Regions from separate parts of the Homo sapiens genome. Here all the other regions are linked to region 1. Evidence: promoter capture Hi-C in 16 types of primary human blood cells and fetal thymus (Javierre and others, 2016). All regions are on one chromosome and are shown on one strand. Each heading gives the region's core, a stretch centred on a gene start or on the middle of the fragment in contact. The rest is flanking DNA. Distances are from core to core; before and after follow the strand shown.

Evidence for each region. Contacts are between HindIII fragments. The CHiCAGO score rates a contact against its expected background, and 5 or more counts as called.
Region 2: a contact is called between the fragment with the promoter of PADI4 here and the fragment with the promoter of SDHB in region 1, in 5 of 17 cell types (neutrophils, monocytes, megakaryocytes and 2 more). The highest score is 19.9, in neutrophils.
Region 3: a fragment that was not itself captured here is called in contact with the fragment with the promoter of SDHB in region 1 in 7 of 17 cell types (neutrophils, endothelial precursors, monocytes and 4 more); the score reaches 12.8 in neutrophils.
Region 4: a fragment that was not itself captured here is called in contact with the fragment with the promoter of SDHB in region 1 in 8 of 17 cell types (neutrophils, M0 macrophages, megakaryocytes and 5 more); the score reaches 16.0 in neutrophils.
Region 5: a fragment that was not itself captured here is called in contact with the fragment with the promoter of SDHB in region 1 in 4 of 17 cell types (neutrophils, monocytes, M2 macrophages and 1 more); the score reaches 9.1 in neutrophils.
Region 6: a fragment that was not itself captured here is called in contact with the fragment with the promoter of SDHB in region 1 in 1 of 17 cell types (neutrophils); the score reaches 6.7 in neutrophils.

Annotation. Positions count from the first base shown.
Region 1 is chr1:17,051,820-17,056,195 of GRCh38, forward strand. It overlaps SDHB (succinate dehydrogenase complex iron sulfur subunit B), which reads right to left and starts at 2,213. Exons shown (of 8, transcript NM_003000.3): 1 at 2,129-2,213. The coding sequence starts at 2,200. RefSeq lists enhancers at 2,093-2,152, 2,703-2,752. The HindIII fragment of the contact is 17,146 bases long and covers 1-4,376 here.
Region 2 is chr1:17,306,457-17,310,832 of GRCh38, forward strand. PADI4 (peptidyl arginine deiminase 4) reads left to right here and starts at 1,741. Exons shown (of 16, transcript NM_012387.3): 1 at 1,741-1,858. The coding sequence starts at 1,767. The HindIII fragment of the contact is 10,543 bases long and covers 1-2,148 here.
Region 3 is chr1:17,288,108-17,292,483 of GRCh38, forward strand. No RefSeq gene overlaps it. Among named protein-coding and RNA genes, the nearest start is that of MIR3972, 12 kb to the left of the region's middle. The HindIII fragment of the contact is 1,519 bases long and covers 1,254-2,772 here.
Region 4 is chr1:17,258,032-17,262,407 of GRCh38, forward strand. PADI3 (peptidyl arginine deiminase 3) reads left to right here. Exons shown (of 16, transcript NM_016233.2): 2 at 1,547-1,727; 3 at 4,102-4,174. Among named protein-coding and RNA genes, the nearest start is that of PADI3, 11 kb to the left of the region's middle. RefSeq lists enhancers at 1,003-1,504, 1,505-2,004. The HindIII fragment of the contact is 856 bases long and covers 1,452-2,307 here.
Region 5 is chr1:17,215,216-17,219,591 of GRCh38, forward strand. All of the region lies in intron 1 of PADI1 (peptidyl arginine deiminase 1), which reads left to right. Among named protein-coding and RNA genes, the nearest start is that of PADI1, 12 kb to the left of the region's middle. The HindIII fragment of the contact is 9,935 bases long and covers 1-4,376 here.
Region 6 is chr1:17,181,918-17,186,293 of GRCh38, forward strand. No RefSeq gene overlaps it. Among named protein-coding and RNA genes, the nearest start is that of LINC02783, 5.7 kb to the right of the region's middle. The HindIII fragment of the contact is 4,141 bases long and covers 90-4,230 here.

The DNA of each region.
Region 1 (4,376 bases), core at 963-3,462:
GAACAAGATGCACATTTTTTAAATTTTTTTTTTTTTTTTGAGACTGAGTTTCGCTCTTGTCGCCCAGGATGGAGTGCAATGGTGCGATTTCAGCTCACTGCACCCTCCACCTCCCAGGTTCAAGCAATTCTCCTGCCTCAGCCTCCTGTGTAGCTAGGATTATAGGCGCCCACCACCACGCCCAGCTAATTTTTTTTTTATTTTTTTAGTAGAGACGGGGTTTCACCATGTTGGCCGGGCTGGTCTTGAACTCCTGACCTCAGGTGATCCACCCACCTTGGCCTCCCAAAGTGCTGGAATTACAGGCATGAGCCACTGCACCTGGCAAGATACACACTTTTAAGTAGGTAGTTCTTGTCCTAAAGGAGTTCATAGTCCAGATGAAGAAATAAGGCAACACAAACAATAGTTAATATACTACAGTCAAATACTTACAGGCAGAATTGTGGTTCAGTGGTCAGACTATAAGCATAAAAAGAATTCAGAACCTGAACCTGAATGTTACCCACAGGTAACACACCAAGCTCATTACTGAATTCTTTTGAGGTGGCTTTTGTGGGTATACATGTACATTCCCACAAGGAAGGGGAGGCCTTGGGGCTCTTCTATTTTCTGTTGCCCTCAGGAGGCCCTGCAAAGACCTTGCCTGGAATTACAAAAATGACCTATGAAATTAGCCTTTTCTACAATGCATTCTTAGAAGAGGGGCTTGGAACTCTCTCGTTAGTGGGGCTCTCACAATTTAATTGTTTGCTCAGCAACTATAAAAGGAACAGGTAAACAAGCTCATTATCAATCATCAATTTAATACTGAGAGGATGTCAGCTTGAGGCTCTGGTAGGCTGTCTTCTTCCTCTATCTCCCCTTTTCAGAAAGGCTGATGCAGACAGAGTGGATCCAAGTTCACACACAGCATGCTGGATAGAACCAGGATTGGAACATGGGCAATATGTACTGTGTTATGCAGCCATAGCAGGCACTTAAGATGAAAGATGTCCTCATTTAAGTGCAAGAGAGGAAGAGGAACTAAAATTTCTTGGACACCAACCATGTCCCAAGATCTATGCTAAGGAGTTTTTCTGGTACCATGTTAAAAAACTGCCTCAGGTCTGCTTCTTGGGAATGTGATATTTTGAGCAAGCCAAAAATTTTCTTTCTGGGGGCCTCAAGTTTTCAAAGCTCCAAAAAGGAGGGTAAGGATTCTTGCTTGCCCACCTTAAAGGGGTTGTTGAGAATCCCAGAAGAGGAACAGACTTAGAAAGGATTTGCAAATCCTTAGTCCCTTATGTATACAAAAGCAATTTCCCTTCCCCTTCTAAATGTTCCCACTTAGAAGGCAGGTCAGAAATGTGTTGTTTCTTGGCCATACAAGGGGCGTGGGAAAATCTGTTACTGCACACGGCATAGTAATAAACAAGAACAGCGCCAAGCCCTCTACCTGTCATTCCATGTCAACTCTATGAGGTCCGTATTATTATATGACCTTTAGAGTCAGAAACACTGAGAGGATACTAGTGAAACTGTGGTGACACTGCTTTAAGGAACCCAGTCTTTCCTGCAACCCCCACCACCCACCTCCGGGATCCTTCGAGGTAGGGGGCTGGGTGCATTTCCCTCCATCTCTCCCTTCCCCTGCCCTGTCCCCAACAATTCACATGTCCTTTCCTCACCCATCCCGGTCCTCAACCTCGCACCCTTGAGGAATTACCTCGCTTCCCAATTCCCATCCTTCACACCCCGCAGGTCTCCCTTTTCTACAGAGGCGATAGTTTGGTGGCAGAAAAAGGGCTTGGAACTCCAATGTCTGGATTCAAATTCTGGTTCCAGCAGTCATTCGCTTGCCATGTGACCTTGAGCAATTCAAGTCCCCTTTCTGAACGTCCCCCCCCCCCGCACCCTTAGCTGTAAAAAATTGCCCGTGCCCTAACTCACAAGCTGCTGCGAGGCGCAGAAAGATAACTTGACAGGGATGCTCGAAGCCAAACCAAAGCACTGCACCAGGGGGAGGAGGTCCTCCATCTCCCTGAGGCCTTGCCCTATGCTTCCTCAGTCTCTCCGCAGCCCCATCAGCTCCAGGCAGTCTCTGTGGCTTTCCTGACTTTTCCCTCTCTGAGGCTCCAGGACTCACCTGCAGGCAGGCTCCGCCAAGGGTTGTGGCCGGCAACCGGCGCCTCAAGGAGAGGGCGACCACCGCCGCCATCTTGGCTCCTGACGTCAGCCCCACCCCTTAACCCCGAGGTCGCTCTCCGCCGGTGTCCCGTCGAACATCGCGGCGCCCAGCCTACATCCACTGAGGACCCACTAGCCGCGTACGAGCAACCAAGTGGGAGGCGGCTTCCGGTTTCCCGGGTGGGCGGAGGGAAGGCGGGGCAAGCACAGCGAGCGTGCGCAATAGCGCAGTAGCGGCGCATGCCCATTTGGCTTCCCCCGTGACCTTCTCAGAAAGGGGAGGAGTCTGAGAGGCAGGGCGACTTTCAGGGGGTGGGGCTAAGACTTAGATGGGGCGGAGCCATCCTATCCGGGTCCCTGCCCCGATTTCAACCTCTTTATTCCTGGAATTTTTGTTTGTTTGTTTGAGATGGAGTCTCGCACTGTTTCCCGGGCTGGAGTGCAATGGCGCGATCTTGGCTCACTGCAACCTCCGCCTCCCGGGTTCACGCGATTCTCCTGCCTCAGCCTCCCGAGTAGCTGGGATTACAGGCGCACACCATCACACCCGGCTAATTTTTTGTATTTTTAGTAGAGACGGGGTTTCATCATCTTGGCCAGACTGGTCTTGAACTCCTGACCTCGTGATCCGCCCACCTTGGCCTCCCAAAGTGCTGGAATTACAGGCATGAGCCACTGCGCCCGGCCAATTTTTTTTTTTTTTTTCAGACAGGGTCTCACTCTGTTGCCCAGGCCGGTGTGCAGTCTTGGCTCACTGCAGCCTCGACTTCCCAGGCTCAAGCGATCCTCCCACCTCCAGAGTAGCTGGGACTACAGGCGTGTGAGCCACCATACCCGGGTAGTTTTTTTTTTTTTCTTTTTTTTGAGATGGAGTATCGCTCTGTCTCCCAGGCTGGAGTGCAGTGGCGCGATCTCGGCTGACTGCAACCTCCGCCTCCCGGGTTCAAGCAATTCCCTGCCTCAGCCTCCCGAGTAGCTGGGATTATAGGCGTCCGCCATCATGCCCGGCTAATTTTTTTGTGTTTTTAGTAGAGATGGGGTTTCACCATCTTGGCCAGGCTGGTCTTGAACTCCTGACCTCGTGAGCCACCCACCTCGGCCTCCCAAAGTACTGGAATTACAGGCATGAGCCACCGCGCCCGGCCACCCGGATAATTTTTTTAAAAAATTATTTGTAGAGATGGAGTCTGGCTATGTTGCCCAGGCTGGGCTCAAGCAATCATCCTGCTCCAACTTCCCAAAGTGCTGGGATTACAGGCGTGAGCCACCACACCTAGCCTCCCTAAGAATTTGTCAGTCTTATTATTCATCTCTGACGCTTACTGGCTTGAGTCAGCCCTTTCTGTCGCATACCGTGCAGCTTGCCCGAGGCTGCCCAGGTTTCTGCACTGAGAGTCCCAAACAAACTGGGCAGTTGGTGAATGAGCTGAGGTGATTTCAAGGGTGGCTGGCAAAGGTGCCATTCTTTTGTTCGTTCATTCATTCATTCATAAATACGAATGGAGTGGCTACTATGTGGCAGGCACCAAGTGCTGGGATGCTGCAGGGAATGAGCAAGCCAGGTGGTCACTGCTCATTGAATTTACTCTCTAGTGGTGGAGACGGCAAGTGAGCAGACAGCTAGACACTGTGAGCTCTGTTCTGTACGAGAGGGTGTGCCCAGAGAAGGACACCCAGTCCTTGGTGGCTTTGTTAGCCATTTAATATAAGAAACCATTTCTACTCTGTGCCAAACATTATGGTCCATTATCCCACTTAATCCCCACAGCAGTTCTGTGAAGAAAGTTTTTTGGTTTTGTTTTTTACTGAGTTTCCATTTTAGACATCTCAGCTTCTTTTTCCAGCCCCCTCCATGGATCTGCTCAGAGCTGGCCTCACTCTTGGGACTTACCTTGGGCAGGAGTGGCCTGGAGCCTCCAAGGCACCTGCCTCTTCAGTCACTCCACGCGTTTGTGTAGATTGTTAACCTTGCAGGTCCCGGGGTTTCGTAGGAGTGATTTTTTTTTCCCCTTTCTGTCTGCTTGTTTTGGACATGTGAAGGGCGCCTTTCTATAGTCTTTGGTTTCCACTCTCACAGCTGATGTGGATGCTACTGGAGACATTGAGATGGCCAGGTCAATTGGCTGGATGGGCTGTTTCTGGAGTCCTTGACTGGAACCCCGCTATACCGCCAGTGTGGCCTCATTAAAGGGGGTGTGTAGTGAGGC
Region 2 (4,376 bases), core at 491-2,990, 250 kb after region 1:
AGAGGCCAGCCCTCCCTCTGATTTGCTGTGTGACCGTGGGCAGGTCCCACTCCCTTTCTGTGCTTCAGTCTCCCCTTCTGCAAAACGAGGACTGGATTGGGTGTTCTCTAAGGGCCCTCCCAACTCTAACAATGGACAGCTCCCTCCTGCCACTTCCCAGTAGAAGCTCAAACTAGTTCTAATCATGCGGTCAGCCAGAGAAATTGGGTTTATTAACACTGTGTGCAGGCAGTCATGTAGATGCGTCAGAACGTCGGACCTGGCCACATCATCATCTGCTGGTACAGAAGATAAATTTTGAGCCCAGAGAAGGTGGTCTGAATCCAGATCCCCACTGTAGGGCTTATGAGACCTTGGGGGTCTCACTCAATCTCTCTAAGTCTTTGTGGTCTCATCTACACATGGGCATCCTGATAGGACGCACTCCATAGGGATGTTGAGATGAGGCAGGATTTGAACTAAAGCCTGTTTGATCCCACAGCCTGACTCTGAATTAATGAGGCAAATTCTTTGCTTCAAAGCCAAAGCAAGCAAACAAAAAACAAACGCAAGATATCCAACCCACGAAACGCTCTATGTTCACGCCAGACTCCCATGCATGCACCCTTTGAGTGCTCCTTGTTGGGACCCATCCACCACCCCCCAGTTGCCTCATTAAAGGCAGAGCCTGGCACCAATGGCCCAGGTGCAACCACAGCTCTGAGGCCACATGGGCATCCCCCTGGCAGGCGTGGCCCACACCTGCACTGTCTGGTCTGACACCCAGAGGCCCTGGCAAGAGGCAGGTATCCTGGAGCATGCAGAGAACATCAACTTCCATGCCAGGAAGCTCATCTTCTCTTCCCAGCTCTGCCGCATTCTAGCTCTGGCACCTTGGGCAAGAGCTAGTCACTTTTACTCTCTGAGCCTCAATTTTCCTTCTGTAAAATGGGTTGTAATAATAAGCCCATATACACCTTGTATTGTAGCGAGATGTAGCTGTGATACAGTCTGGAAAGCACGTGTCATATAGACAGGCAGCTAATGAATCTCACACTCTGGAACTGGACACCTTTGGTTCCAATTCTGGCCCTACCACTCTCGAGCTGTGGAAGAACTGCACCTCTGTTTTCTCCTCTGTAAAATGGGTATAATAATGGCACCAACCTCAGAGGGCTGCTGTGAGGGTGAAATAAGGGGATAATGGTATGATCTAGTTCACGGGTTTGTCGTAATGAGCTATTCTATGTGAAGTGCAGGAAAACGTGCCTGGCATAGAGAATGTGAGCTGTCATGTGGGTGGCCCAGGTGGAGAGACTTGTCCCAAGCCTGGTTGGTCTTTGAACGTGTAGCCTGGCCTGTGACTGCTTACCTAAAATCTCCCCGCTTTTCCCACCTTCTCCTCTCTGATATGCCTGTTTGACATAGGTGAGATTGGATAGATCAAGGTGTTCAGGGCCTCTAGGCAGGGATGGGACTGTGGGCATGAGGACCAGGACCCAACCCCTCAGCCCCACTCTCCACCCCAGGCTTTCTGAGCCATCCATCCTTCCCAAGAAACTGACAGAGCCACCCTGCCACTGGTACCAGCATTGACACCCATCTAGAGGTCCGAGGGGCAGCCCCAGGGCAGAGGAGATTTTGAGAGCCCACACCCCTGACCTGAGTGGGGAGGGGTTGAGCCTCTGGGCCACAGACCGCAGGTGCTGACTCATGGCCTCTGCTGGGCGATATAAAGGAACCAGCCCAGGGGCTTCCTACAGCCAGAGGGACGAGCTAGCCCGACGATGGCCCAGGGGACATTGATCCGTGTGACCCCAGAGCAGCCCACCCATGCCGTGTGTGTGCTGGGCACCTTGACTCAGCTTGACATCTGCAGGTAAGAGGGGGGCCTTCTGGGGTTTTGGAGGCAGGTCAGGAGATGCTGGATGACCCAGTTCTACTGACACAGGAGCATGTGTTTGGCCCAGGCTCTAGGCTCCAGCCTCTGCAGCCACTGCCAGGGGAGTAGCTGGAGAGAGAAGACCCCAGCAGCCCTGGGAAGTGCCAGTCTCATGGCTGTGGGTTCTTTGCCATGTACAAGTGCAAATTCCCCAGGAACACACGACAGATAAATTATTATGGGGCAAACCAGGCCATCCATCTCCCTGTCTTCATCGAGGCAACAGAAGCTTACAGAGAGTCTGTGACTTGCTCAAGGTCACACAGCACGTGTGCCCTGGAAGTAAGGTTAGCCCCTGGGCCTCCTGGTTCACAGCACAGTTTGTTACCCCACATCTCTTAGCTAAGCCTCCCTCAGTGGGTGCATAATAGCGTGGGTGGGGATGGCGAAACGGGGCTCTGTGGCGGCAGAGACTGAGGTAGGAAGCCTGGACCTGCTGCTGGCTAGCAAGGAGGCCTTGGGCAACTGAGCCTCAGTTGCCTCATCTGTGAAATGGGGATAATACTCACATCATGGGCTGGTTATAGGAATTCAATGTGAAAAAATGTGCAGATGTTGGCTGAGTACTTAGCACAGTGGTGGGCCCATCCTTGGTAGTTTTTATTTACTCATTTAACAAATGCTGAGTGCCATGCTCTGTGGCAGGGTCTGGGTTAAACAAGAGAGTTGAGGAATGCTCTCGGGGAGTGTGCAGGGTCATTGTTGTTATTGTAGAACAGGAATTAAAAGAAATTTTAAAACGTGTAAGCAAAAACTCAGTTCTATGTTAAAAAAAAAAAAAACAATTTTCCCTGGAAAAAAAAAAAAAAAAGAGCTGGAGTCCCTTAAAAATTAACTGCCTGTTTTTTTGTGGCTAGTGAGCCTTATTGCTCCTCTTTTTCCAGGCATTGTAAAGACCCTGTTTCTCCAGCTGTGCAGCTGCAAGGTCACTAGACAGATAAACTCAAGCTGTAAAAATTTTTTTCCTTAAAAAGTAAAAAATAATATAATGCATGTCTCAATTAAATAACTGTCTTTGTTTCTTGCCTCTATAATATGCTTCCCCCTGCACAGATCTACCCCCGCCCCATGAAATGCTTAAAAGATAACTTAACTCTTTGTTCAGGGCTCAGTCTTTTGAAATGTTAGCCTGACTGAGCCAGTGAATCTAAATAATAAATCCTCCTCAACCCCTCGGTCTCTCTGATTCCTAAATTATCCTGCAACAATTGCTGTTGTCAGGAATAGGAGTGGTTGCCCCTGGCTTCCCCATCCCAGTCTGGGCATCGGTGGCCCTAGAATGGTGCCCACAGGAGTGCCGGGGACATTTCTTTGCTACTGCCTGAGCCCCAGCAGCCAGAGAACAGCAGGAAATGTCGGGATGGTCTCCCAGGGCCACATGGTGGAGGCAGGAGACCAAGAAGTTGGGGAGAAAAGGAAAAAGAAAATCACCTGACATCATCTGAGGCGCCCCCAACTCCTCTGAGAATGGGTGTGAAGGAAATGACAGGAGCTGAAGCTAGCCCAGGGCCTCTCCCAGCATGCCCAGGCTAGCCCTCTACCCAGCGTCCATGAGTAGTAATCAAGATCACAAGTGCTTCCTCTGGCCCTAGAGAGGTGGGTGGACAGCTGGTCAGTGTTGGGCAGAGAGGAAGGCACTGCCCATTTCTCCCAGAAAGGATGGGGACTCCGGAGTTCACAGGGGCCTCTAAATCCTTCTTTTCTCCTCCTTCAGCCACACGTTGAGCCTGTCACTCTATCCCCTGAACATCTCACGTAACAATGGCTAATATTTACATCACACTTCCTACATTCAACTCATTCAATGGCCTTGGGAGGCAGGTAATGTTGTTATTCCCATTTTACAAAAGAGGAAACAGAGGCTCCAAGAAGTTAAGTAACCCACCTCAAGCCACACAGCTAATAAGTAGGGGAGCCAGGACTCAACCCAGGCAGCCTGACTCTAGGACCCTCCATTCTCCCCATGGGTCTCCGTTCCAGACCTTCCTGTCACTTCTTATCTGTTCTTAACATAGCCCCAGACAGCGCCTCCCTCCCATCTCCTGAGCAGCCATCGGCCTCTTCCTGAACCACACAGGTGGGAGGGCCACTCCCTCCTCACCTCCGCCCCTCATATTCATGCCTCCATAACTTTGCTCAAGCCATTCTCTCTGTCCCCAAAGTCAGGAACCCGGGAGGCAGAGGTTGCAGTGAGCCAAGATTGGGCTAGTGCACTCCAGCCTGGGTGACAGAGTAAGACTCTGTCTCAAAAAAAAAGAGGCAAAAACACCTAACCGAGGGTCACATAAATTAAAGGTGGCAAGCTGGGCACGGTGGCTTATGCCTGTAATCCCAGCACTTTGAGAGGCCAAGATGGGCAAATCACTTGTGGTCAGAATTTCGAGACCAGCCTGGCCAACATGGGGAAACCCCGTCTCTACTAAAAATACAAAAAAATTAGACGGGGCGCAATGGC
Region 3 (4,376 bases), core at 763-3,262, 240 kb after region 1:
GGATGTTACACAAAGCAACTCGGTGACTCAGGTGTGTAGCCAGGACACAGCAACACTTTGGAAGGCCAGGCGGGCAGACCACCTGAGGTCAGGAGTTCAAGACCAGCCTGGCCAACATGCTGAAACCCCGTCTTTACTAAAAATACAAAAATTTGGCTGGGCGTGGTGGCTCACGCCTGTAATCCCAGCACTTTGGGAGGCCGAGGTGGGCGGATCACGAGATCAGGAGATCAACACCATCCTGGCTAACATGGTGAAACCCCATCTCTACTAAAAATACAAAAAATTAGCTGGGCGTGGTTGCACGTGCCTGTGGTCCCAGCTACTCTGGAGGCTGAGGCAGGAGAATTGCTTGAACCTGGGAGGCAGAGGTTGCAGTGAGCTGAGATCGTGCCACTGCACTCCAGCCTGGTGATGAAGCGAGATTCCGTCTCAAAAAAAAAAATTAGCTGGGTGTGGTGGCTCGCACCTGTAATCCCAGCTAGTTGGGAGACTGAAGCAGGAGAATCTCTTGAACCAGGGAGGCAGAGGTTGCAGTGAGCCGAGATCGCACCACTGTACTCCAGCTTGGGTGAGACAGAGCAAGATTCCATCTCAAAATAATAATAATAAAGAAAGCTCTGCATGGGGAAAAGCTTAGCATGAAATTTTGGGGTGAGGGATGGGAGCAGGGAGACAAGTCAGAAGGTGGCAGCTAGTTCAGCCGAAGAGAAGCCACCACATTCAATTCACTCTTTGTGGGGAAACCGGAAGGGACGGGCTTACTGGACAGGACGTGGGGAACAGGGAAAAGGCAGGGACAAGAGTCCCTCCCAGAGTTTGAGATTTATTTACTCATTGATTTATTATGAAGTAAATCATTAATACAAGACAAGTTTTTTATAATGTTTCTGAATGACTAAAAGAATAATTATGGAATGAAAACCTGTATACTCTGGCTGGGCGTGGTGGCTCACACCTGTAATCCCAGCACTTTGGGAGGCCAAGGCGGGTGGATCACAAGGTCAGGAGATCGAGATCATCCTGGCTAACGCGGTGAAATCCCATTTCTACTAAAAACACAAAAAATTAGTCGGGCGTGGTGGCTCATGCCTGTAGTCCCAGCTACTCAGGAGGCTGAGGCAGGAGAATGGTGTGAACCCAGGAGGCGGAGCTTGCAGCGAGCTGAGATCGCGCCACTGCACTCCAGCCTGGGTGACAGAGTGAGACTCCATCTAAAAAAACAAAACCAAACAAAAGCCTGGCTACAGCAAAGCTTTGGTAACAAAGCAGGTACGTGTATCCCCCATTTGCCCACCATGATGGGCCAGTGGCCACTCCCCCAGGACTCACAGATGAGTCAAAGCAGTGGGCAAGTTTTTTCGAGGCTTCGGGCAAGAAAAGGGCTGGGATCCCTCTTCCCCCAAGTGCTTCCCCCCAGTTCTGGGCCCCACGCCTGGGTCTCCTGGTTCACAGCATTTTATTGTTATGTTGGTGGTGAGGATTTGAGATGGTTCCTGATAGGATGTCAGGGGGCAAGGGTCTCCTTCCGAGTTCCTGGAAAGGAATGCACACTCAGAAACCCAGGCTGAACGTTGCCGGTGTGGGTGCTTGGTGGATGTGTCTGTCCTGGACCAGCAGATGGAAACTAACTACCGCTCAGCTGGCTCTCTGAAGCAATGCTGTCTTTCAAGAGCTGGAAGCCAGCACCAAAGCTAGCTCCATAGTTTCTTTTTTGAACTCTTCTTGGGTCTTTAAATAAGTCTTGGCATTCTGAGAAACTGCATCTCAATGCCAATTATCTTAACTCAAAACATCTCAATCACAGAAATTATAGCTGCCTTGGGCAGTTTCCAGTGCTCCAGCAAGCAGGGACCTGAGCAGGGCTGGGCAGGGCATCATTCAGAAGTGTTTATGTGACTAACGCTCCCCAGGAGTCTACTGGACAGCTCAATCAGCACATTTACTTACTGGTGTTTTTTTTTTTTTTAATTCCTTTGCCAAATTCCTCTAGGGATTTGAGGCAACATATATTAAGAGTACATTCAACAAACTGATGATTTAAAAAAATTTTTTACATTAAGACACCAAGGCCAGACACGGTGGCTCATGCCTGTAAGCCCAGCACCTTGGGAGGCTAAGGCAGGTGGATCAGTTAAGGTCAGGAGTTTGAGACGGGCCTGGCAAACATGGTGAAACCCCATTCTACTAAAAATACAAAAATTAGCCGGGTGTGGTGGCGGGCGCCTGTAATCCCAGCTATTCAGGAGGCTGAGGCAGGAGAATCGCTGAAACCCAGGATAGGTTATCTTGAAATAATAATAATAATAATAATAATACACCAAAACAGAAAAAAAAATCCAGAAAATAAAACCCATGGAAAAGGACAAACAAATATATGACCATGAGAACCAAACTATCATTAGGATTGGAGCTTCCCAGTAGCCCTTGCAAGAAGGGAACCAGAGTCAACCACCTAATTCTCATTATCAGAAGGAAGGCAGCATGCCAAAATGATTCCCGTCATACATGGACCTTTATAAAGGGACGTGGAGTGGTCAGTGTGCTCAACCACCTTGCAAGAGCAAATTCTACATTTGCTCTTAGCCAAAAGGCCAAGAAGCAGTTGCAAGACCAAATTTAATGGGAGATTTCCTATGGTTGAGCCTCCATTTGCTCATCTGTAAAATGGGAATAATGCTTACCTTCACGGGTTGTTTGAGGACTACAGCAGTACCTGGCAGACAGCAAGAACCTAACAAGTGTTTATTTCTTCATTTTCTATCCCCAGCAAGCTTAGGGCCTTCTTCATCCTCTCCAGGGTAGCTACTTAATCCTCACACCTATTTTACATGGGCACAATTTTCCCTACTATGTGTCCAGCTCAGCAGCAGATTCTGGGGATACAGCAGTGGGTGAGCAGATATGGAATCTGCCTTTAGGAAGCTCATAGGTTAGTAGAGAAGCAGGGCAAACGGAGAGTAGCAACAATGTATGGTAAGTACAATTGTAAAGCCATAATAATAACTGTAAGAGCTTCTGTTTTGTAGCACGTAACCTGAGTTTGCTAGCTGTGCTTGACAAGAACAGAATGAGAAAGAAAACCTACGAACATAACAATAAACCCATAAATGCAAAAATTCTAAACAAAACTATTAGCAAACTCAATTCAAAAATGATACAATATCAGATTATACAATATCAGATCAGAATAAATTGATCCCAGGAATGCATGTTTCATCTTAGAAAATCAATTCAACAGGTTAATAGATCAAAGAAAAAATTTACATGATCATCTCAATAAATCAGAAAAAAGTTAATAAAATCATCATTTATGATTTTTAAGCAAAACTTAAGAATAAAAAGAAACTTCTTTAACCCCATAAAGAATAGCTATAGGCTGGGTGTGGTAGCTCACTCCTGTAATCCCAGCAATTTGGGAGGCTGAGGTGGGTGGATCGTTTGAGGTCAGGAGTTTAAGACCAGCCTGGGCAACATGGTGAAACCTTGTCTCTACTAAAAATACAAAAATCAGTGGGGCATGATGGCACGTGCCTGCAATCCCAGCTACTCAGGAGGCTGAGACAGGAGGATTGCTTGAACTCAAGAGGCGGAGGTTGCAGTGAGCCAAGATCACGCCACTGCACTGCAGCCTGGGTGACAGAGCAAGATTCTGTCTCAGAAAAAAAAAGGTACAATAGTGATTCTCAAAGTGTGGTCCCCAGACCAGCATTAGCATTATCAGCATTACCAGGGAGCGTGTCCAAAATGGAAGTCCTCAGGCCCACCCACACCTTCTGAATCAGAAACTCTGGAGGCTGGGGGAGCAGCAGTCTGTGTTTCAATAAGCCCTTCAGGTAATTCTAGTGCCACTGAAGTTTGAGAACTACTGATCTATAAGAAACTCACATCAAAAATTATTCTTAATGATAAAGTATTGAAACCATTCCTTCTAGGATCAGAATAAGAATACCCATTATCATAACTGTTAATCAGCATTGAACAGAAGGTTCTTGCCATTGAGGTATAAGATTAGAAAGGAATTATTATATATACAGAAAATCCAAAAGAATCTACAAAGTAAAAGAATTCATAAGAGGGTTTAGCGAGGCTGTCACTATAAAACCAATATACAAAAATCAATTGTATTTTTTTTTCTTGTGGGACAGGGTCTTGCTCTGTCACCTAGGCTGGAATGTAATGGCTCAGTCACAATGTACTGTAGCCTCGACCTCCTGGGCTCGAGTGATTCCCCCACCTAAGTCTCCCAAGTAGCTGGGACTACAGGTGTGTGCCACCATGCCTGGCTATTTTTTTTTTTTTTTTTTTTTTTTTTGTAGAGACAGGATATCGCATGTTGCCCCAGCTGATTGCAAACTCCTGGCCTCAAGCAATCC
Region 4 (4,376 bases), core at 630-3,129, 210 kb after region 1:
GCCCGGCCACAGACCTTGGGCAAGTTACTTAACCTCGGCTTTCTCATCTGTATAATGGGAGACAATAATAGATAGTGCCTCCCTTCTAGGGTTATTGAGAGGATTGCATGATGGGCTGGCACACAGCATGAGCTCAGTAAGTGTCAGTCACTGTTATCCCCCAGGGGCATGCATGCCGCTGCCTCCAGGAGGCCCTCCAACTCGCAGTGGCCTCTCCCTACATGGGTTCCCACTGAGCTGTGATCCTGTGGCCTTGAGCCCCATCTGGCTGCCCTGGACAATGTTGGTCCTCAGCTCCCCAGCGGGATCAACAGTGGGGAGAGCAGTGGGTGGATCTGCCCGCCAGGCAGTACCTGAGTGCACAGTGGGCACCCCACAGTCAAAGGATGCATAGTCTGGTTTCCAAGGAGGAACCCCAGGCTAGGTGGAATGAGGGAAATGCAATCTCAGGGCCAGATAACATCACAGATACTTTAAACCTGCAATTAATTTCTGGTTGTTTGACCAAATCCGGCCAAGTTTCCCGGGTGACACTGCAGAGCTGTGGAACAGCATGGGCTTGGAGTCAGACCTGTTGCACATCTGGCTCTGCCATGTGATGCAACCTCAGGCTTGTCACGAGGCCTCCTTGAGCCTCAGTTGCTAATATGCCAAATGGGGATGATATTGCTCACCTTACAGCTTGTAAGAGTGGAGGGAGCTGCGTGCGCCAGGTGCCTGGCATGCAGCGGGCACTCAACCAGATTGAATTCCCTTCCCAGGGAAGAATTCAAGGATATCTTCCCACCCACTAAGGAGACATGTGATGGGATCTGGGGTGAGAATTGCTCTTTTTAAAGCTCTCAGAACTGTAAGGGGCTCCACCCACCAATGGCTGGTGTTCACTGAGCTCTTCGTGCCCAGACCTGCACTGGGGATTTATCGAGCACATGGCTGGCTTCTGACTTCCGAAGAGCTCGCCATTCTGGTGAGTGGTAAAGAAACTCACAAGGGAAATGTTAATGAACACAGGGGCTTAGAACATCAGACTGTGTGTATGTTTTTTTGTTTTGTTTTGAAACAGGGTCTTGCTCTGTCGCCCAGGCTGGAGTGCAGTGGTGCAATCTTGGCTCACTGCAACCTCTGCCTCCTGGGTTCAAGCGATTCTCCTGCCTCAGCCTCCCCAGTAGCTGGGATTACAGGCATATGCTACCACGCCTGGCTATTTTCTTGTATTTTTAGTAGAGACAGGGTTTCACCATGTTGGCCAGGCTCGACCTCAAGTGATCCGCCCGCCTCGGCTTCCCAAAGTGCCTGACCTCAAGTGATCCATCCGCCTCGGCTTCCCAAAGTGCTGGGATTAAAGGAGTGAGTCACCACGCCCGGCCGACTGTGTATATGTTTGTGTGGGGTCCAGGCTTGACTCGCAGGAGCTTACTGTGAGGATCTGAGGGGACTGGGTGGCCAAGGAAAGCTTCCTGGAGGAAGCAGGGCTTGAGCCAAAGCTCAAACATCTGAGCAAAATATATCTCCTTCGGCACCGACCATGGCTCTCTGCCCTGCCCAGGTCAGTGCCTGAGGGCACAGAAATGTTTGAGGTCTATGGGACGCCTGGCGTGGACATCTACATCTCTCCCAACATGGAGAGGGGCCGGGAGCGTGCAGACACCAGGCGGTGGCGCTTTGACGCGACTTTGGAGATCATCGTGGTCATGAACTCCCCCAGCAATGACCTCAACGACAGCCATGTGAGCTGGTCCCTGGTGGGGTGGGGAGAGGTTTCGAGGGAGGCAGCTGTCTAGCTCTAGGAGGGCCCAACATTCTCTTTCTCCAGAGCGCAGGGCAACACAGTGGGTAAGTGCCTGGCCTTGGAGCCATACTGCTGATTTTGAATCCCAGCTCTGCAAGTTACAGACACATACCATGTGTCCTTGGAAAGCCTTATCATCCCCTTGGGGCCTCTGTCTGCCATCTGTAAAATGGGATAATCATAACCCCTGTCTCCTATCATTGCTGTGGAGTGCCATAGGAGCCAGTGTTGCTCCTTCTCTTGCTTCCCAAGACCCCCTGGAGAAGGAGTTGTCCCAGTTCTGCTGAGTTGGGTCTCAGTTTCCCCACATGTAGGCTGAGGGTTGACTAGGGGATCTCTGCCACTTTGAATGAAAGAGAGAAAGCAGGGACAGGGGAGGGACACCGGTGCCTGGGAAGACCCCCTTCCTAGGTGACAGCATTTCCCCAAGGCGCTTTGCTGTCCGTAATCCACTCTCTTCCTGACCCTATTTGCAGGGTAGGGGACATTTAACACATGGGAGAAATGGGTGGCCTTTAAGCTTGGCACAGGTGATGTTTGCTTCGAGGGCTGATAGGGACCAGGACTTGGAGTGTGGGAGTAGTGGGATCCACTCCATGTCAGGAGCGATGTTTCAGAAACTGGCCCTTTAAGGAGCACTGACCACGTGCCAGGTACTGGGCAGCCATGACCTCATCCAGCCCTCACAGCAGCCCAGAGAGGTGGGGGACTGATGCCCATTTCGCAGATGGGGCAACTGAGGTTCAGAGTAACTGTCCCGGGACCGCACACTAATGGTCAGGAGAGCTAGAATTCAGTGCAGACCCCTGGGGGCAGTCTCCCTCCATCACCCCCACCTCTGTTCCCAGCCATGCATCCATGAGGCACTTGGGGCAGGACCCAATGAACCCATTTAATAGGCAAGAAAACTAAGAAGGAGAAGGGGTGGCTTTCCTGAAGTCACATGATCTAGCGAGCGGCAGAGCTGGTGAGAGTCAGGACAGAGTCCCAGGGGTAGTGCAAGAGGACTGGCCAGCCTGTGAGGGGCCCCACCTTGGTGCCGGTTGAAGTGGCGATGGTGTGGGTACCCCCACCTTGAATTCCTTGGCCATGATGGCTGGTGGGATGGAGGAAGTTCAGAGTCTCTCCCACTCTTTCCCTCACCCGCCATATACCCCTGCTCCCTATCCTGCCTTTGGCCAGGATCCCAGTAATTGTATGTTTGAGGCAAGCATCACTGCTGGTGATTGACACATGGAGGTCAGTAATTGCAGGATTTAGGGGCTCCCAGGACTACAGAGGTGAGTGGCCCCTGCAAGATCCTCCCCTCTGGCTGAGATTCGGACATGAGAAGCAGAGAGTTGAGACACCCATGTCAGGAGGGAATACCCCAAGGGGAGGGTCATGCTTTAAAGGGAACTTGGATGCCTTGGATTCATCTGCCTCCAACTAAATATCATCCACGCCATCTTCATCCTCACCCTGTAACAGTTCTTGAGTGCTCGCTGTGGGCCGGGCACCGAGCTGCATGTGCCCCATACATGACTCCTTTCATCTTCACAGCCTCTAATTAGTCCTAAGGGGTAGGAACTATTATTATCCCCACTTTACAGTTGAGGAAATTGAGGCCCAGAGAAGATCAGTAACTTTTCCTGGGATATTCAAAAGTGGGGGATTCAGAATCTGGGCCCAGGCCATCTGACCTCAGAGCCCTGCATTTAACCAGCCCCCACCCCACAAGATGCCACCTGCCCACTGATAACAGTAGCTAGTATTTCTTGGGCACTTCCTATGGGCTCAGTCTTTTACATGTATTGTTTCCAAGCTGCATTACAAGCCTCTGAGGTAGAGACCTATAGAGGTAGAGGCCTTTTCCCATTTTGCAGAGGAGAAAACTGAGGTGGCTCAGGTAGGTGAGAGGCCTTGGCCAAGGTCATAGAGTACCCAGAGGTGCCGGGCTCAAGCCCGGGCCTGTCTGAGTCCCACAGACAAGAATGTTGGCTTGGAGAGTGTCCCCAAACCCTGCCCAGCCCAAACCCTTTATTTTACAAATGGCAAAACTGAGACCCAAAGGGGAGCAAGAGCTTGTCAAAAATCACAGAGTAGGTTATTGGAGGGACTGGGACCCAAGTCTCTTGAGAAGCTCTCACAAATAGCTCCCATTTTACAGATATGCCAACCAAGACACAGAAAAATAAATGGCACAGAGGAGGTTAAAGAAAGAGCAAGGTTCCTTGGGCCCCCTCCCCTCCTTACCAGATCCCCGAGAGCTATCTTTTGGGGCGGGAGCTCTTGGCTTCTGCTGGTATTACTCTGCGCCCAACTCTCCACAGGTTCAGATTTCCTACCACTCCAGCCATGAGCCTCTGCCCCTGGCCTATGCGGTGCTCTACCTCACCTGTGTTGGTAAGTTGGGGGCCATGTTGATGGTGTGGCCAAGGGCACATTTGAAAAATTCAAGCAGTACAAAAGAGTATACGTTGAAAATTAAACCTCCTTCCCTCCAACTCAAGACTTCTAGTTCCCCAAACCCAGCATTTTTCTAGAGATACGCTGTGCTTATATATGAAAGCACATACATACCTGTATATCCCCCCTCTTTTGTAAG
Region 5 (4,376 bases), core at 1,152-3,651, 160 kb after region 1:
AGACCAGGAGCCCAGCACCCCAGAGAGAGGTGAACAGAGGTGTGAGCTATTGAGCAAGTTTGGGGTGGGGAGGGAGCAGATCTAGACTACAGGAAGCTAGGCTGGGCTTGGAGGGTCTTGATAGCCCCAGAGAAATTGTACCTGTCATTTCTTCCCCCTTCTTTCATCATCATCATCATCGTCATCATCATCATCATCATCATTTTCTACCAAGACTCCAAATAGGGGGCTGTGACTTAGAGATGTCAACTTTTGCCCAAAGCTAGGGATTGGCTCCACAGAGTCCTGCTTCCCTTGAAAGGGCTGTGTCTGGCACCGGTGGTCCCTGAGTGGGGTGGAGCAGGAGTCACCCATGAGCTAGAAACCCTTCTGCTGCCAGCTGGGTGCCCTGGGCTTGTGGCTACTTGCTCTTGGAACTCATGGGCCAGGCCGACTGGATTCAATCATGACTCAGCCACCTCCCCGCTGGGCAGTCCTGAGAAAGCCACTCCACCATCCTGAGTCGCTGTGTCCTTGTCCAGAACGCGTTGATTGTGCCCCTGGTTCATGCCAGGCACTAAGCTGGATGCAGAGATGACAGCAGCGATGCAGACAGCATAAAACAGAAAAAAAATCTCTGCATTTTAGAGGGAGAGACTGCAATGAGCAGATATGTGCTCTGTCAGGTGGCTGGGAGGTGGCCGGTGCCATGGGCTGGAATGAAGCTGGGGTTGGGGAACCAGACTCATGGTGTCATTTGTGTCACGCCATTTGCAACAGGCAAGAAGGGTACATCAGAAAGGCCTCGTATGCTACCCTGAGAGAAGGAAGTGAGGGGCTGGGCGGACCGCAGGGATTGGTGACAGGAACATTCCGGACAGACAGAGCTGCAGCCCTGGCATGCTTGAAGAACGGCAGGAACAAGCAAGAGGGCGTGGGGAGGGAAAGCAATGGGTCAGGAAAGCCTGGGAGGCCACACAGGCTCTGGTGACAGCCTCTGAGCAGGAGGGATGCAACGGGACTTCTATTTTAAAAGGTCCCTCTGGCTGCTATGTTGAAGCTGGACTGTGGGGAGAGAGGGGAAGCAGGTCACTGGCCTATGATAAAAATCCACATGGAAGCAACTGGTGGCTTGGACAGGATGTGAGCTGTGGCAGAGGTGAGAGCGGTCAGGGTCTGCAGTTGCTATGAAGGTGGAGCTGATGGGATTTGCTGAGGGGCTGGCTGTGCGAGTGAGGGAACAAGAGGAGGTGAGGCTGAATTGGAAGGTGGAGCTGCTATGGACAGACTTGCGGTGGGTTGGGCAGGAGCAGGTTTGAAAGGAGTGGGGAAGGAGTGGGCATGGGGAAGCAGGAGTTTGGCTTTGGATGTGTGAAATTTAAAATGCTTGGTAGGGCTGGGCGCAGTGGCTCACGCCTGTAATCCCAGCACTGTGGGAGGCCGAGGTTGGCAGATCACTTGAGGTCGGGAGTTCAAGACCAGCCTGGCCAACATGGCGAAACCCCATCTCTACTAAAAATACAAAAATTAGCTGGCGTGGTGGTGAGCTCCTGTAATCCCAGCTACTTGGGAGGCTGAGGCAGGAGAATCGCTTGAACCCAGGAGGCAGAGGTTGCAGTGAGCTGAGATCATGCCTTTGCACTCCAGCCTGGGTGACAGAGCACGACGTTGTCTCAAAAAATAAAAAATAAATAAAATAAAATGCCTGGTAGACACCCAGGGAGAAACTCAGAAAGCAAGAAGTCTGAGAGTTCTAACCATATTGATGTGGCAGGTGGAGAAAACCAAGGGAGTGGGTGTAGACAGAAGAAAGGAGGAGAGGAGAGGGGAGGGAGGGGAGGAGAGGAGGAGAGGGGAGGGAGGGGAGGAGAGGAGGAGAGGGGAGGCTGAGCCCTAAGCCAGGTGCGCTGGGGCCAGCCGCACTCTGAAGAGTACCAGTGTAGGGATTCTGCCCGTTGCCGATGGTGCCTATTCCAATTACACATTTCAGAACTTGTTGGGGTGGGGCGGAACCACACATGGGCTCAGGGGCTACTGGACCCACTGTAAGATGAACCTGAGCTGAAACTCCATGGATCACCTGGCCTCCATGAGCCCCTGCTCTGCCAGGTGGGCCGCAGTGTTGTTTAGGGTCTCCTAGACCAGTTCAGGGCCGGTGTGCAGGAGAACTAGAAATGTACGATTATTTCCTTTTCCCCAGTGACAGTCACCCTGGTAAAAAGTTGTGTGTCCTCTCGGGGAAGGCTGGGAGAAAGTTGAACAGTGTGTTTGTGGCAATGTACCAGGGTCCTTCCTCAAGGAGATCTGATTGTTTAATTTTTAAGAAGGTTATGAACCCCTTGTTAAACACAGCCACTATTTAAAATTAAATATACACACAATTAAGCAAATTATATTAAAAACAAAGGCAGTAGTACTGAAAACTCATCACTGCTTAATTATTTTACTGCATTTTACCATTGTCCAGATATAGTGGAAATAGTGATGTCACGAGGTGCTATTATGCAGCTCTTTGAAACTCTGAGTCCAATGATGTTGGGCTGGTAACTTGAAACTGGCTAGAGTGGGAGTGTTTACACCACAGACATTGGTCAAGGCTACAAATCAGGGCTTCATTCATCGTTTTATCAAATGCCTAGAGTTCAGAAAGTGATGGAGACAGGTTAACAATGTCAACTCAATTTAAAAGTGTATTGCGTCTATAGCCATGACATTGTGGTTAGTACCAAAAATTGATGAAATGTTCCTCCAGGATTATCTGATTCAGCAAAGAGGTTGCTCATATCCTAGATGAATGAATGAAGGGTGACATGCATCTTCATTGTTTCCCCTTTCATCTTATTCGTGAATGCCAACAAAAATATCAACCAACGTTTACGTCACATATCAGATTTAGTGACAATAAACTTATGGAGGAAAGAATGAGCAGATTGGGATGCAATTGCATTGGTCAAATCATGGTCAAATTGCAACCACAGGTTGGCTACAGTTGCAAGAGAGGGCATCTGGAGGAATCAATGTACTATATAGAATTTACAACACATTTTACAATAAAGAATTATATGTATTATACTATTATTTTTACATTATGTGCTACACACTATTTACATCAGTAAAATTTATAATAAATTTATATATACATATATATGCATAAGAACCCCCCCACTCCAGAGAGCTGGTTGTTAAACATTTGCCAGCACACCACTGCCTGGAGTTAGGGGGTAAGGGGGAGTGACACAGCAAAGGCATTAGAGGAAAGGCCACGGAGTCAGAGGAGAGCAAGCAGAGCCCGTGTCCCAGCTGCCAAGTGGGAAAGTGTTTCAAAGACAGGTGATCATCTGGGCCAAGTGCCTCTGACAGGTCAATGAGGGGAAGAAGAGAAAAGACCCACTGGGTTTGGCAACAGTGGAGTTTCCTTGGTGTGGTGGGAGGAAAGGCTGATTAGAGGCAGGTTGCAGACGCAAAGAGAAGAAATAATTGGAGGTGTCAAGGGAGCAGAAGAAATGAGGAGGTCAAAGGAGAATGAGTTTGGGGATGGGTGATATTCACGTCTGTGTGCTGGGTGCAAGGGAGGGGAGAAGGGGCAAGGCCAGTGATGCCCTTGAGTAGGGGATGTGCCCCAGGAGGGCTGGTCTTGGGCAAGAGCCCAGACAGCACACCCCTCTTCCCAGGAGGGCAGGCATGGTCGTGGACTCAAAGGCAGGAGGGCTGGGAGATGAGGTGGTGGGAGGAGGGAGGTTGAAGGCTCTGAGTGACAAGGGGGAAGAGTGGGGAGGCTTCTGGAGATAGGAGAAGATAGGACATAGTCCTCTAGGACACTGAAAGAGAAAAGAGCCTGGAGCAATGCTGTAGGAGCACGAGCATGTCACGCATCCATTGAGGTCAGCAGTCATGAGTCCAAGTGAACCATGGTCAGCCGCGTGGTGCAGGTGCAGAGGGGGTGGAGAGTTGGATCTGATTGTATAGCTGGAGCTCTGCCAGGCAGCTCAAGGGAGGGAAGGATGAGCAAAAGATTAGGGAGTGGAGCAAGGGGGTGGCCGCAGCGGGGGACTATGGGATCTATGGGACTATCCTGGGGAAGGGAAGAGGGAACATGAGGGATGAGGGACAGCAGTGGGGGGCGAGTAGAGAGGACTCAGCCTTCAAAGGTCAAGCGTCCCAGTGGGCTGAAGGTTTGGTTGCACTGGTGTGTTAGGAGTGAGCTGGAATATTGGGAAGCGGTGTCCGAGTGGGTTGCTAACAGGGGAGCTTGTAGTGGGTGCAGTTTTTTGATAATAACATTCTATAGCACCTGCCCCGTGAAGGAGGGGATGAGGCCAGGTGGAGGACAGGAGCATTGGATGAGAGGTCAAGGGACTGAGGGACCAGGGTGCAGCACACCATCTACATCGCCATTG
Region 6 (4,376 bases), core at 910-3,409, 130 kb after region 1:
GGAGGAGACTGGTACCATCTCAGACCTACTAGCCCTTGGGGGACCCCAAGAGAGGGGACACCCATCTCCTGCAATATTTTGGGGAGCCAAGCTTGTACCTGCAAACACACAGAGCCCAGGCCTCCAGAAAAGTGTCTGCATCCTCCCTGAAGGAGCCCCAGGCCAGCAGCCCCTTCCTGTCACATTCCCCTCCTCCCCAGAGGTAGAAGGGCTGTCAATCTATCACAGCGCTGCAGCTGCACCGGCGTTTCCCAAAGTGGCTGCACCATTTACATTCCAACCAGCAGTGTATGAGGCTTCCAGCTTCTTCAACTCCTTGTCAACACTTGTTGTGGTCTGCCTTTTTGATTATAGTCATTCTAGTGAGTGTGAGGTAGTATCTCATTGCAGTTTTGATTTTCATTTCCCTACTGACTAATGGTATGGAGTATCTTTCATGGGCTTATTGGCCATTTGTATATCTTCTTTGGAGAACTATCTACCCAAATTCTTTGTCCACTTTGTAATCTTTTCATTGTTGAGTGATAAGCATTCTTTACATATTCTGGACACTAGAGCCTTATTGCATTCACAATTTGCAAATATCTTCTCCCCACTGGGGATGGTCTTTTCGCTTTCTTGATATTGTCCTTTGAAGCATCAAAATTTTAAATTTTATTTATTTATTTATTTATTTTTGAGACGGGGTCTCGCTCTGTTGCCCAGGCTGGAGTGCAGTGGCACGATTTCGGCTCACTGCAAGCTCCGCCTCCCAGGATCATGCCATTCCCCTGCCTCAGCCTCCTGAGTAGCTGGGACTACAGGCACCTGCCACCACTCCCGGCTAATTATTTGTATTTTTAGTAGAGACAGGGTTTCACAGTGTTAGCCGGGATGGTCTCGATCTCCTGACCTCATGATCCTCCTGCCTCAGCCCCACAAAGTGCTGGGATTACAGGCGTGAGCCACCGTGCCTGGCCCAAAGTTTTAAATTTCGATGAAGTCCAATTTATGCGTTTTTCCTTTAGTTGCTAAAATTAAATTTATGAGACTGACATGCTGCCTACTGCACTGAGGAAGCAACTTAAATTTAAATTAAAAGAATGTATATGCCAAGAAATGTGGAAATTTAGATAAAAATGACAAGTTTCTTGGAAAATCTAACTTATCCACACAACCCGTGTGGTGTTCTGATAAATATTTAACAATTGGCTTTCCAAACCAACCAACCTAATGCCGCACACATAAAAGCCCCTTTCGTGTAGTGCTAACCAGTTTCCATGGTGTAAATACTCCCACCATGGCCAGTGTGACATCCCTGAGTGTGGTGTTGGGAAGAGATGTGCATTATCTGCTCTCCAGAGCCAGCCTCCAGTGCGTCACTGAGCTGTAACACAAGAAATGGAGAACCCAAATCATTCTATAACCATAAAACAAGCGGAATCAGTGGCCCAGCCCTCAGTCCTGCACCCATAATCTTCAAGGCTTGCCATGACTTTCTGCAAGAGGGACCACCAGGCCACCCTCCACTCTGGTAGAGTTGCTGATGTGGCAACCAGTGAAGAATGCCATCAGCAAAGTCCCACTGGAGAGGCCCAGCCCAGTAGGTCATACCCAGTCCCGGTCCAGCTCTCTTCCCCTCCTCTGCCCCTCCTGCTGAGCAAAGGTTCTGCCTGAACCTTTGGATCTAACCAGGCACATGTAGACCCACGTATCACAGGATGTCAGTGACCAGCTCCTAGCAATGAAGGCTCAGAAAGGTCCAGCAAGATGCCCAAGGTCACACAGCAGGCCATGGCAGAGTTCAGCTGGAGCCCAAGCCTCAGAACTCCCATCCCAGCCTTGAACTGTGAAACTAGAGTCTGGCCCATGAATCCTCTTTAGCTGAGCCCTTGGGCCCCCCATGCAGGCCTGAGTGGGCCTGGGGATCTCAATGGGCTTGAATGTGTCCCAAGGCCAGGTCTGCCTATGCCTGTCCCATCACTTCTCCCCAGGGAGTTCAGGGAGCCCCACAGCCGGGGCTACAACTGAGGGCACAGCCAGCTCTGAACCATGGACAGAGCCTAGCCCCTGCAAGTCAGGGGTTGAGGTGACAGGATGCTCTGGGCGCTCCCTGGAGGAGGCGGGCATCGCCTGAGGCCCTTCTGGAGGCTGCTAACACAGTGGGGAAATCAAGCGTGCGCTTTGGAAGCAGACCGAGCCAGGCTGGCATCCCAGGTTCCCACGTGGTGCTGCGTGACCTCGGGCAAAGTGTCTCAACATCTGGAATCTCCTTTTTTTCCTCATAAAGATGCCTGGTCTCACAACCGTTAAGACTTGAATGAGGTAATGTTATGTTCAAGTGCTCTGCTCTGGGCTGGCACAGGGTTGGTGGCCCATAAACAGTAAGTTCCACTCCTTCCCTAGTGGGAGCAGCTTAGCTGTCTCAGCAGAGCCCTTTCCCCTGCTTGGGGATCCTGGTGGCTGGTGGGGGTGGGGACAGGGAGGAGGGGTGGTACAAACCTCTACAGAGTGCATACATTTTAAGTGTAGAGCTCTGGGCCAGATGCCATGGCCAGGTCCTGGGTTAGCCTCCTCAAAGGATGCCATAGGGGCGGATACAGAGCCAGGAGGACAGCCCCACAAAGGGCAGCCCCCTAGGCCAGGCACCGTGGCTCACATCTGTAATCCCAGCACTTTGGGAGGCCGAAGCGGACAGATCACCTGAGGTCAGGAGTTCGAGACCAGCCTAGACAACGTGGTGAAATCCCATCTCTACTAACAATACAAAAATTAGCCAGGCGTGGTGGTGGGTGCCTGTAATTCCAGCTACTTGGAAGGCTGAGGCACAAGAATCGCTTGAACCCGGGAGGTGGAGTTTGCAGTGAGCTGAGATCATGCCACTGCACTCCAGCCTGGGAGGCCTTGGGACTTGGTTGGTGACTGGAGCCAGAGACTCCATCTCAAAAAACAAAACAAAACAAAACAAAACAAAAACAAAGGGCAGCCCCCCAGAAACCCGAATACAGAAGACCTATCCGACATCCTGACCTGTCCCCACAAGGACAGCTGGAGGGGAAGTGCTGCTCCACGTGGCTCCAGTGCTGCAGAGAGCCCTGGCCAGGGATTGGGAGCCAGTGTTGGTGACCTTGGGCAGGTCGCCACCCTTCTCTGTTCCTCACCATTCCCATCTGTAAAAGGCAAGGGTTGGACCAATTCATCCCCTGGGTCCCTTCTGGCTCTGACCTTTGGGGATTCCCAGCCTGCTCCCAGCCTTGACTTTCAGAGAAGCTATGGACTGGCCAGGGCTGCCCCTTGGCAAGTGTTTCCTTTGGCTCATGCAGAAGCTGTGCCCCAGGCTCGCTAGTCCAGACCAATAAGCCAGGCTCATAAACGCCTGGCGGGGCAGCCGGTCTCCTTCACATAAAAGTCATTTTCCAAACAGGATTGAGAAAGGCCAGCTCCGGACAGGCCATCTCGGGGGCACTGGAGCAGAGAGTGCCCGATTGCCTGAGCCTTCCTGGCCAGCTCCCCCTGTCATCTGCCTCGTCTTGGTGCCTATCTCCCTCCCGCTTACCCTCTGGAGATAAACTGGGGCATGAGTCCTGCCTCCTATGTGGCCTTGGTCCTGTCACGTCTCCTTCTGGGCCTCAGTTTCCCTATCTGTCAAACAGGGAGGCCCATCCCTGGCTGGCCTCACTCGGCAGTGTGTGACAGTGCCTTGCCAGGAGTGAGCAGCGAGCTGGTGAAGAGTGGCTCTCAGCCCCTGGGTGACCCTCCCCATATCCCCCAGCCCAGACCTCTCATCTCAGCTCTGGCCTCCCACCCTGGCCCAGAACCACATGCCCAGAGGGAGCTCTGCACACATGGGCAGAAGAGGCCTTGTGACTTGGCTGCTGGCTGCATCTGCTGGGTGTGCTGCCTCCCCCATCAGACAAGGAATCAGACCAGAGGCTTCCTGAGGACCAGAGCTGCATCTCATCCATCAGACCAGGACCCCTGAGGACAGCAGCAGCTTCGTCTCCACCCTCAGAAAGAGGTGGGTCTTGAAGGTAGCAGTGAGTCCCTTCCACCTGCAGGAAGAGTGTCCTGAGAGCTCCTCCATCAAAAGACTCCAGGGCAGGGCTGTGTCTCCCCCATTAGATTAGAAGGTTCTCAAAAGAGAGAGGGAGCATTGCCTACTCCTTAATTCTTATACCATGGGAGCTGTGTTTCCCCCATCAGACTAGATGATCTGTGTGTTCAAGGGCTATGCCTCCCCATCAGATTGGAAGCTTCCAAGCGCAGGGGCTGTTCCTCCCCGATCAGCGAGGAGGCCCCTGAAGGACAGGCATTTTGTCTCCATGCTCAGTCTGGGGTCTCACTGAGCATGACCTGAGCCTCCTCTTCAGACTGTGGGCCCCACTGTCTTCCTTCAG